3 separate regions of the Homo sapiens genome follow, and regions 2 and 3 are each linked to region 1. Evidence: promoter capture Hi-C in human tissues and cell types (Jung and others, 2019). All regions are on one chromosome and are shown on one strand. The core of a region is centred on a gene start or on the middle of the fragment in contact, and the rest is flanking DNA. Distances in the headings are between cores, read along the strand shown.

The links. The method cuts DNA at HindIII sites, captures the fragments that hold promoters and counts their contacts. A contact is called where the count stands out against the background at its distance.
Region 2: a contact is called between a fragment that was not itself captured here and the fragment with the promoter of MTHFD1L in region 1, in 1 of the 25 tissues and cell types used here (dorsolateral prefrontal cortex).
Region 3: a fragment that was not itself captured here is called in contact with the fragment with the promoter of MTHFD1L in region 1 in 1 of the 25 tissues and cell types used here (dorsolateral prefrontal cortex).

The regions. Positions count from the first base shown.
Region 1 is chr6:150,863,928-150,867,423 of GRCh38, forward strand. MTHFD1L (methylenetetrahydrofolate dehydrogenase (NADP+ dependent) 1 like) reads left to right here and starts at 1,775. Exons shown (of 28, transcript NM_015440.5): 1 at 1,775-2,122. The coding sequence starts at 1,896. RefSeq lists silencers at 1,617-1,846, 1,907-2,316, 2,477-2,676, 2,797-2,946. The HindIII fragment of the contact is 14,014 bases long and covers 1-3,496 here.
Region 2 is chr6:152,330,156-152,333,651 of GRCh38, forward strand. It overlaps SYNE1 (spectrin repeat containing nuclear envelope protein 1), which reads right to left. Exons shown (of 146, transcript NM_182961.4): 78 at 1-1,735. Among named protein-coding and RNA genes, the nearest start is that of SYNE1-AS1, 49 kb to the right of the region's middle. The HindIII fragment of the contact is 4,614 bases long and covers 1-3,496 here.
Region 3 is chr6:149,722,593-149,726,088 of GRCh38, forward strand. NUP43 (nucleoporin 43) reads right to left here. Exons shown (of 8, transcript NM_198887.3): 8 at 1,723-3,496. Among named protein-coding and RNA genes, the nearest start is that of LATS1, 6.2 kb to the left of the region's middle. RefSeq lists a silencer at 1,935-2,137. The HindIII fragment of the contact is 3,959 bases long and covers 1-3,495 here.

The DNA.
Region 1 (3,496 bases), core at 525-3,024:
TTCCAAAGGTTGAAGGTCAAGACAATAGCTCTCAATTCCCTACTTTTGTTAGGATTGTATGAAGGGTCCTTCCAGCACTGTCCCAGTATGGTGCTCGGCTAATGGAAAACCAATCTCTGTAACTTGGACTAGTTTTATTCCCACCTTATCTGGGAATTATAAGGGTATAAGGTTGTAAAAATATAAAGTTAACAATCTGACCCTCACTTGGGAATCATAAAATTACAATCTGATATCCACTTTACTTGGAACTTATGGTCAGCCCTCTGTATCCTCAATCAACCTGGGACTGAAAGTATTTGAAAAAATTACAATAACAAAAAATAATAAAAAATCATAGAAATAAAAAAGTACAGTGTAATATCTATTTACATAGCATTTACATTGTATTAGGTATTATAAGTACAGCAGGTCCTGGAATAACATCATTTCATCATTTTGCTCAGTGGTTTTCTTATAATGATGAGAAAAAAATAGATTTCTGGCTGGGTCCACTGTCACGTTTTATCCATGTCTGTGTGGATTTTCTCTGTCTTCTGGTGTCCTGTCACATCCCAAAGCCGTGCAGTGCACTTTAGGTAAATTGGTGCATCTACACGATCCGAGTGTGAGTGTGGGTGTGTGTGAGCACACCCTGTGAGGTGCCCTGAGTTGGAATAAGCCGGTAAAAATGATCTCACTTTTATTAATCTTTATTTTTCTCTAAGCGAGAGGGATAGGGGGTGTTTAAAAAAAACTTTTTCTTTGAGACAGAGCTGTGCTCTGTCGCCCAGGCTAGAGTACAGTGACATGATCTCGGCTCACTGCAACCTCTGGCTCCTGGGTTCAAGCGATTCTCCTGCCTCAGCCTCCCGAGTAGCTGAGAATACAGGCACGCGCCACCACACCCAGCCAATTTTCTGTATTTTTAGTAGAGATGGGGTTTCGCCATGTTGGCCAAGCTGGTCTTGAACTTCTGGCCTCACGTGATCTGCCCACCTCAGCCTCCCAAAGTGTTGGGATTATAGGCGTGAGCTAAAAATCTTCCTTAAATATATGCATGGCTCACACTTATTTCAATGTTTAATATTAGAAGTGTTTTGGTCTTTATTTCGAAGTTTAGGGGCGATTTTGTGACCACAGATATGTTGTAGGAACTTCACTCATATCAATTAGCCTGTGGTCAAACTGTTTTCCTTACAGTCATTTGGCTTAAAGTTTCAGTTTCCAAGAACCCCTCCACGATGTTAGGTGAGGACTTAGGGAATGTGGAGATGACCTAAAGTTTATGATGGGAAGATGTGTGTAGGTGATATGCAAACACTTTTTTTTTTTTTTTTTTTTACCAAGGACTTGAGCATTTGTGGACGTGGGTCCCCTGGAGGGGCCCTGGAACCAATCAGGACTATAAAATCCTTTTAAGGTTTTAAGAAGAGCATTGTTATCTCTGTGGTACTGACGAAGACCCCGCAAGCTCACCGAGATTAAGTGCCCCTGCCTAAGGTTACAAAGCCTCTTATCCTCAGGCCACCTCCAGTACAGCAAATCCAAGCCCTCCCGTCTAAACTTGGCGCCCTGAGTACCAAGGGTCACCTCGGCCTTTCAGGCTGAAGGGAGGGAGGCTGAGTCTCAGGGCAGAGTCTGAGTCCCACTCCGCACCCCACCCTCTGTCTGGTACAGCTTACCAAACCAAAGTGCCCAAAGCCGTGACATCCCGGCCGGCGGCTCGCAGGCCCCCGCCCTCCGCACGTCACGGCCGCCGGGTGCAGTGCCCCCTAGGGGCCCCTGGGACGAGGAGGAAGCGCCAGGTCCTTCCCGCCGCCGCCGCCGCCGCCGCCGCCTGCTCCCCTGGCACGCGCCCCGCCGCCCTCGGCAGCCGCAGCTCCGTGTCCCCTGAGAACCAGCCGTCCCGCGCCATGGGCACGCGTCTGCCGCTCGTCCTGCGCCAGCTCCGCCGCCCGCCCCAGCCCCCGGGCCCTCCGCGCCGCCTCCGTGTGCCCTGTCGCGCTAGCAGCGGCGGCGGCGGAGGCGGCGGCGGTGGCCGGGAGGGCCTGCTTGGACAGCGGCGGCCGCAGGATGGCCAGGCCCGGAGCAGCTGCAGCCCCGGCGGCCGAACGCCCGCGGCGCGGGACTCCATCGTCAGGTGAGTGTCGGGTCTGGCCCTGGCCCAGGTCTCCAGCGGCTGTGGCCCCGACCCAGGGGCGGAGCGCCCGGGACCGCCGTGGGGAGCGGGGCGCGGGGCTGCGAGTGTTTGGTGCCAACTCATTAGGGGGGCCGGGCGGTGTGTCGGGAAACGCGGGCTTGGGCACTGCGGCCGGGAGCGCTGGCGGAGAACGGGGGATCCAGTACCCGACCGGGCCCGCAGCGCAGGTGGGCGTGGGCATCTCCAATGGGCGCCTAGCGGCATGGACCGCACGCCCGGCTCCACGTGCGCAGCCGGCCGCCGGCTCTGATGCAATCGCGCCGGGCGCGACCCAGACGGTAAAGGGGCGGTGCGGCTGGGGCGGAAACCAGGGGAGGGGGCGAGGAGCAGGAGGAGGGCGGGGCTGCGGCTCGGCGCGCCGGCTGGCCCGGGGTTCGGGAAGGGCAAGCGGAGCTCGGGAGAGGCGGGCTCGGGCCCAGCGCCGCCCGCGCGAAGCTCCCTGGTGTTGTGCGCCCTTCCCCGCGCGCGGCCCCTCCTGCTGGGCTGGGGTCTGTGGCTGACGTCCGCTTTTCCCGGAACGGCAAAGGTGGAGCCGGGCCCCCGGGACAGCCGCCGGGGGGAATCCGAGAGGTCTCAGCGCTGGTTTCCAGCTTCGCCGCGCAGCGCCCACGGAGTCCCCGCGCAGCTGGGTTTGCAGGGTTTTCTGCGGGCCCAGAGCGAACTGGGAGCCCCGGGCCCGGCCTTTCCCGTCCCGGTCCCCGCCCCTGGGCTCCAGCCTTCCCCGCCCTCGCCCAGAGGGGCGCACGGGTCTCGGGCCTTGCAGGGCGAGCCCTTCGGGACAACTTGGGGGTGGCAAGAAAGCCCCTTCCGCCTCCCTCGGAACTGGGATTAGGAACGAGTTCCAGGATGCGGTTTCCCCGGCCAGCGGACCACCTCCTCCATTCACATCCTCTTCCCTTTCCTTCTAGCCTTCTTTCTTAGTCATTGCCTGCTTGCCTTTCTCTCTGCCTTTCCTTCCTCCCTCTGCTCTCCCATTTTCCTCCCCACTCCCCTTCTCCCATCTCAGTAAAATACGTTTCCTAGGCTCTTTATTATGTGGCGGATGATTTTAAGGGGCCATTTATTTAGTTTTTCTTGTTCTCTGTCTTCTTTTTCTTTTAGAAATGGAGTCTCGCTTTGTTGCTCAGGCTGGAGTTCAGTGGTGCCATCTCGGCTCAATGCAGCCTCCGCCTCCTGGGCTCAAGCGATTCTCCCGCCTTAGCCTCCAGTGTAACTGGGACCACAGGTGTGCGCTACCATGCCCGGATTATTTTATTTTATTTTCATAGAGACAGAGCACCACTCTGTTACCAGGCTGGTCTGGAACTCCTGGGC
Region 2 (3,496 bases), core at 270-2,769, 1.5 Mb after region 1:
GGCAAGATCTTCAAGATGTATGGTTACTCGTTTCAGTACAATCCCTGAGTCCTGGAGACTTCCTGCCAGGGAGTGATACATTTTGAGCTTCTCCTCTGCAGGCAGCGTTTCCTCATTCACTTTGGACTGCTCCTCTTTTACAGACTTCAGTTGTCTCTCCAGCTGTTGGCACATCTTCTCGTGTTCTTGGTAAGCACTGGTGGTGTCTTCTAATAAGCTAACCCTCTGTTCTGTTTGTCGCTTCAGCCTGTGATATAAGGTGACAAGGTGCAGCATCTTGTCTGGCTGCCAAGGCTGACCTGTGCTGCGAAAACCTTCTTTTTTCTGGTTCAGTTCATCCACCGCCTCCCCAAGGCCCGCCACCTCGTCCAGAATGGCTCTGCAACCATCTTGCAGAGAAAGAGCCTCCTCAACGGCCAGGTCGGTGGGAACTTTGCTCATCCTCAAGAATTGGGCTTCAAGTTCACTCAGAGACTGGGTTGTCAACTCAATCAAGGAAGCATATTCCTTCCGAGCAAGAATTGCTTCCTGGACTTTATAGAACTTGTCTTTAGCCAAGGCAACAATTACATTAAATTGTCGAGGCAAAGCATTTAGCTTTTCACTGAGGTAGGAATGATCGACTTCATTCAGCGATGGTAATATGGTCTGCCCAGTTCTCTGCAGCGTAAGTAGAAGATTTTCATATTCTGGAGATTGTTCAAGAATGTTTTGGTATTTAGCCAGTTGTGTATGAAGCTCAGAACTCTCATTCATTAGGTTGATTTCAGGAAATGTAACAATATCTGCTTGTTTTAGCCAGTGGCAAGCTTTATCAAAATCTTCCTTAAAATGCTTCCTAGAAACCAAATTCTTCTCTAGTTCTTGTAACCGGTGACTGCACTTTTGTAAAACACTGTCATAGACACTCTGCAATTCCTGAAGCTTCCCCAGCACTTCACTCTTTTCCTGCTCTGTGACTTCCTTCATTAGTTCGCGACCCTGGGCCCAAAGTCCAGTGACTTCATTTTGGTAAGTCTTGAGGCTGGCTTGTGCACTCTTACATGTTTTGACTTGTTTGCTCACATCATCTGGTAACAGACAGATGTGTTCACGGAACATTATCTTTCGCTCATGTTGCTGAATTTGGCTGGTGGCCTGGAACACTGCCATGAGAAACTGGGTTTTCTCGGACAAGGCTTTGTTTAAGTACTTTCTTCGCTGGCCCACTAAGTCACTGAGACAATTCACGTGGCTTTGTGCATCAGAGAGAGCCTTCTGGATGACCTGTCGCTCATTGAGACCAAGATCTGCCATGACCCTGTCTGCGTCCTTTATAAGCGATTTCAGGAGCATCTGCTTGGCCTCCAGTTCACTGCAGATGGCCAGGTGATCCATGAGAAGGTTCTGAGCCATATCTGGAGGAGGGCTCTGCTTAAGGGCCTCGGCGATGTTGGGTTGTTGCTCTTCTGCCCACTCCATTAGCTCCTGAAATCTGGACTGCACCACATTTAACTCCTCCAAGTTGGTGACTGACACTTGGATTTTCCTTTTAATGAGGTCCTCAAGCTGAAACCAACGTTGCTCTAAATGACTCGTCTGTTCTTTGACTAACTCCTTGTCATCTAAATTCAGATGCTCTATCATTTTCTGCTTTTGATCTTTCAGATCTTCAATAGCATACTTTCTCTCCTGCAATGCCAATGCTAACTTTTTCAAAGCTTCCAGGTGGACAGCTGTACTCTCTGCATCAGATCTGAAAATACATGGAAAGGTATAAGAGCAAATTAGCTGTAGTCAATATCGATGTTTGTTCATACTATGCTAAATTACACTTCACCATTTTCTTTTTGGAGACTGAGTTTTGCTCTTGTTTCCCAGGCTGGAGTGCAATGAATGCTCTGATCTCAGCTCACGGCAACCTCCGCCTCCCAGGTTCAAGCGATTCTCCTGCCTCAGCCTCCCAAGTAGCTGAGATTACAGGCATGTGCCACCATGCTCGGCTAATTTTCTATTTTTAGTAGAGACAGGGTTTCACCATGTTGGTCAGGCTGGTCTCTAACTCCTGACCTCAGGTGATCCACCTGCCTCAGCCTCCCAAAGTGCTAGGATTACAGGCATGAGCCACTACTCCTGGCTGACACTTCACCATTTCTTTAAGTGGATCTTCTGAGCTTAGAACAATTGAGAGTAGTTCAATTCATGGTTTGTTGACAGAAGTGCTATAATTATGGAATACAAGTCTCATCAGAAGTCAATACTAGAAGTTGAATCAAACCAAGTTGCCTACTTCTTTCTGGCTGATAATGCCTTCCAATCAAATCAGAATATGCTTTTATCTTCCTCTGGCTCTTATCAACTGAGCAGAATCTATATGGTAACAGGATCCTTGGATGTTTTGTGTAATGTTAAACAGTGAGAAGCACTGATCTAGTGTACTCTAGAAAATGATACTGAAAGAAATTAATAAGTGATGCATGATTTATGTGCTTTCTTTTGTGAAGAGGGTCCAACAAACAATATAGTTCTAGGTAGTACAATCTGTAAGGTATAACCAACAGATCTAATGGCTACTTAATTGTGTACTTGGATATTTTTTGCTTATCATTAGTAATCTTTAGTAATAAGTGTGAAATGTAAAGAATTCTCATCCCTTTGACTATGAAGCACACATAAAAAATGGAATATTGTAGTCTTTTTTACTAAATGATCAGTTCTGAAGTATGAAAAGCAGGGTTGGGAGGCAGTATGAGGAGTTCTGTTTTGGACCTGTTAAGTCTCAGGTGTCTGTGGGGCCTACTGTGAGCCAGAAATATGAGTTGTTAATATTTACTGGACTAATCCCAAAGACGAGTAAATGTTAAGTATCAAAGAAAAGCAAACAAACCAGAAAATGGTATACCAAAAAAACCCCAAATCCCCACTATGATTTCATGATATCTAGAACAATATTTGCAGTTTTCTTTGCTGTAAACTAGTAAATCGGTGCAGAAGAAGTGTAGATTTTAACAATTATAGTGATCAAAAGTATGGAATGGTTTCATATAATGATCCAGTATGTGTGTGTGTGTTCTTATTTTTCAAAGAAGAAAGCTAAGAGGGGTTCAATAACTACAAAATCACAAAAGACACAAATTAACTGAATTTCTAGACTCTTGTAAGAAAAAAACCTGACTGAATTACACAGAATGCATTCATTACCTTATAGACTTGATAAGAAACTAGGGAGCATATAGGTTCAAGAAGGATTCATTTCATGAATTCATAGATGATATCCCATAACTTGTAATTAAACAAAATTAGAAATATTTTTAGAATATTCTTTGAGGTCACAGAGAAAATGGTACCATTTTCAAACATTTCTCTTTTACCCACTGGTTAAATCAATATCGAGCTAGGAAAACCATGACTCTATATCCATTTGAAAACGTTAGGTTCATAATGATGTTCTACTTACCAATATTAATAATAATAAACAATAGATGTTATACCTAAGACATTTTATTTTATTTTTTTG
Region 3 (3,496 bases), core at 266-2,765, 1.1 Mb before region 1:
TAAAGGTTCAATATAAACTATATACTGTTGAATTTAATATGCTTCTTGGACAAGAGTCTAGAGTGGATTATTAAAAGGATGTTTCCACAATACAATTAAATAAAAGTACTATTCACAAAGGACCAGGAATTTTTCAATTATGCCAAATTTTTGATAGTATAACTACAGCACATTTTCTCACAATAACCTTGGAAATAAGATAAATGGAATGAAATGTCAATAAATTAGGTTGTTTTATAAATATTTCAGTAACTGTAGCCAAATACCAGAGATTCATGTTTCATTGATAATTGAGAAGACTCCAGCAGTGGGCCTAAAAACTTCATTTCATTTAACATCTTTCTGGCTGGGCATGGTGGCTCTTGCCTGTAATCCTAGCACTTCGGGAGGCCAAGGCAAGTAGATTGCTTGAGCCCAGGAGTTCAAGACCAGCCTGGGCAATATAGTGAAACACCATCTCAATAAAAATTGCAAAAATTAGTCAGGCTTGGTGGTACATGCCTGCAGTCCCAGATACTTGGGAGACCGAGGTGGAAGGATCACTTGGGCCCAGGATATCGAGGCTGTAGTGAGCTGGGGATCACACCACTGCACTCCAGCCTGGGTGACAGAGTGAAATCCTGTCTCAAACATCTTTCTTAATCAATGGGATGAAAGTGGAGAGAGCACGCTGGGCTAATTATGGAGAAAATAATAGCTTCTACAAAAGATTCAAAGAAAATAGTTAGTCCTTTCCTATATTGAAATGAAATTTTTCTTAGAACAAGAAAGGCCCATATTAAGGATTAAAAACCATTTGTATTAACTTCCGAATATAGGAAGTGTGGCTTAGGAGTATCACATGTGAACACTTCAGAAAGCTGACACAGCATTACAAAGGAATATCATTCCTATTAACAGGATGGCAAGATTTCTGTCATAATCACCAAGGTAGACAATATATGAAAAAGTGTTTATCTTGGAAGTCACACTTAAAAGAAGGCCTCTGGCCGAGCACGGTGGCTCATGCCTATAATCCCAGCACTTTCGGAGGTGGAGGAGGGTGGATCACTTGAGGTCAGGAGTTCAAGACCAGCCTGGCCAACATGGTGAAACCCTGTCTCTACTAAAAATACAAAAAATTAGCTGGGCGCACACCTGTAATCCCTGCTACTCGGGAGGCTGAAACAGGAGAATTGCTTGAACCTGGGAGGCAGAGGTTGCAGTGAGCTGAGATCGTGCCATTGCACTCCTGCCTGGGCGACAGAGCGAGACTTAAAGTCTCAAAAAAAAAAAAAAAGGCCTTTGACAAAGAGCAGTAATTTTTAAAGGGAAAACAAGATTGTGAAAACAAGGTCAATTAACAGTGACTCATTGCTTACTATGGTTCAGATACTGTTAAACACTGTTACACGAAGACATGGGCGCTGTTCTTGATCTTGTGGCCCAGTAGGGGGAGACAGGCTCCTTAACACACTGCTTTGCGCACAATTTAAGTTCTGCACAATGGGCTTTTGAAGCAGAGTGCAATTTAGTCCGGATTGCTGGAGGCCAATAAAAGCTGTCTGGAGAAAATGACACCTAGAAGGAGTCTTGAAGGATAAGAAGGATTTAGCCAAAAATGGAAAGAAAGAGAAGGAAACCTTCACTGGAGAGACTATAATAATCAATTTTGAATATTTGAATATGTGATGAGAGGAATTTTGTGTGTGTGGCTCCCGAGATAAGACAGATAGAAGCAAATTTCAGTTCAGTATATGAAAATTCATTTATTTAGTGAAACCCTGACATTAAAGCGTCCCAACACAAAGCAGATTCGAACATAACAACTGGTGATTGGCTCATCTCACAGGCTCACATCATCAGTGTGTTAACATACAATAGGACTGTACCCTTTTACAGGATTGAGTGTTTTGGATCCCACTCACACACTAAAACCCTGCCATAAAGTTGTATCAATTAGGGCTGTTCAAATGTGAAACTGTATTGGAAAATGGGAAACTTTATCTCCTTATATATGTATATTTTTTGAGATGGCGTTTTGCTCTTTTGCCCAGGCTGGAGTGAAGTGGCACGATCTTGGGTCACTGCAACCTCTGCCTCCCGGGTTTGAGCAATTCTCCTGCCTCAGCCTCCCAAGTAGCTGGGATTATAGATGCCTGCCACCACGCCCGGTTAATTTTTTTTTTGCATTTTTAGTGGAGACGGGGTTTCGCCATGTTGGCCAGGCTGATCTCGAACTCTTGACCTCAGGTGCTTCACCCACCTCGGCCTCCCAAAGTGCTAGCATTACAGGCGTGAGCCACCATGCCTGGCCACCATATGTTTTTAAGTATAGGTTGGATGATAATTTGTTGGGAATACCATAGAAGGGATGATGAAATTTAGGCTGGAGATGATCACCAAGGTACTTTCTATCTCTAAGATCCTGCAACCCTTGAAAGACACTCTATTTGACAGTTTCATGAATAAAGGCAGTGACAATGAACAAATTCATAAATTACGGTGTTACATTACATAAAGCTTAGTTTCTTATTAAAATTGGCAAAACTTGTCAATTGGCATGAAATGTAATGCTGTTAAAATATACTTTCTCTTATGGTTACAAATACTAAGTGGCTCACGCCTGTAATCCCAGCACTTTGGGAGGCCGAGGCGGGCTGATTACCTGTGGTCAGGAGTTCGAGACCAGCCCTGGCCAACATGGTGAAACCCTGTCGTCTCTACTAATACAAAAATCAGCCGGGAGCAGTGGCTCAAGCCTGTAATCCCAGCATTTTGGGAGGCTGAGGCAGGTGGATCATGAGGTCAGTTCAAGACCAGCCTGGCCAACACAGTGAAACCCCATCTCTACTAAAAATACAAAAATTAGCTGGGTGTGGTGGTGAGCACCTGTAATCCCAGCTACTCGGGAGGCTGAGGCAGGAGAATTGCTTGAACCTAAGAGACGGAGGTTGCAGTGAGCTGAGATCATGCCATTTCACTCCAGCCTCAGCAACAAGAGCAAAACTCCATCTCAAAAAATATATATATTTATTAGGACAGAAAAGCAAAACCTTACCATAATTCCATAACTATGATTATTGGAATTACAAAGTAAATGAACACTTCAATTGTCTAATAGCAGTGATTTGTCATTAAGGTCTCAGGTCAATAATACATTTAAAATCTAACAAAGTTTGGAAAGATAGTATCATTAAATTATCTTAAAACACTACATTAGTTCATTATTATCCCTGCAGACAAGGATAAAGATGGTTGGTAACACTATAGGTGGCTAAAACAAAGTAAAAGGATCAAAATGGCAAAATTCTTTACTCTGATCATATCATTTGATTAATCACACTTTTATCTATCACATTTTTAGTTTGGAAATAGTTTGCTTATCAATATAGAATTCTACTTTATTGCACAATGTCCAGTTTGGCAACTTTCAGCTATGCTGTGAAGCTAAACAAAAGCAAAGTTGGGTCTAACAAGCTGAAAGAGTTCTGCTCAAAAACCTATTCTGAAAAAG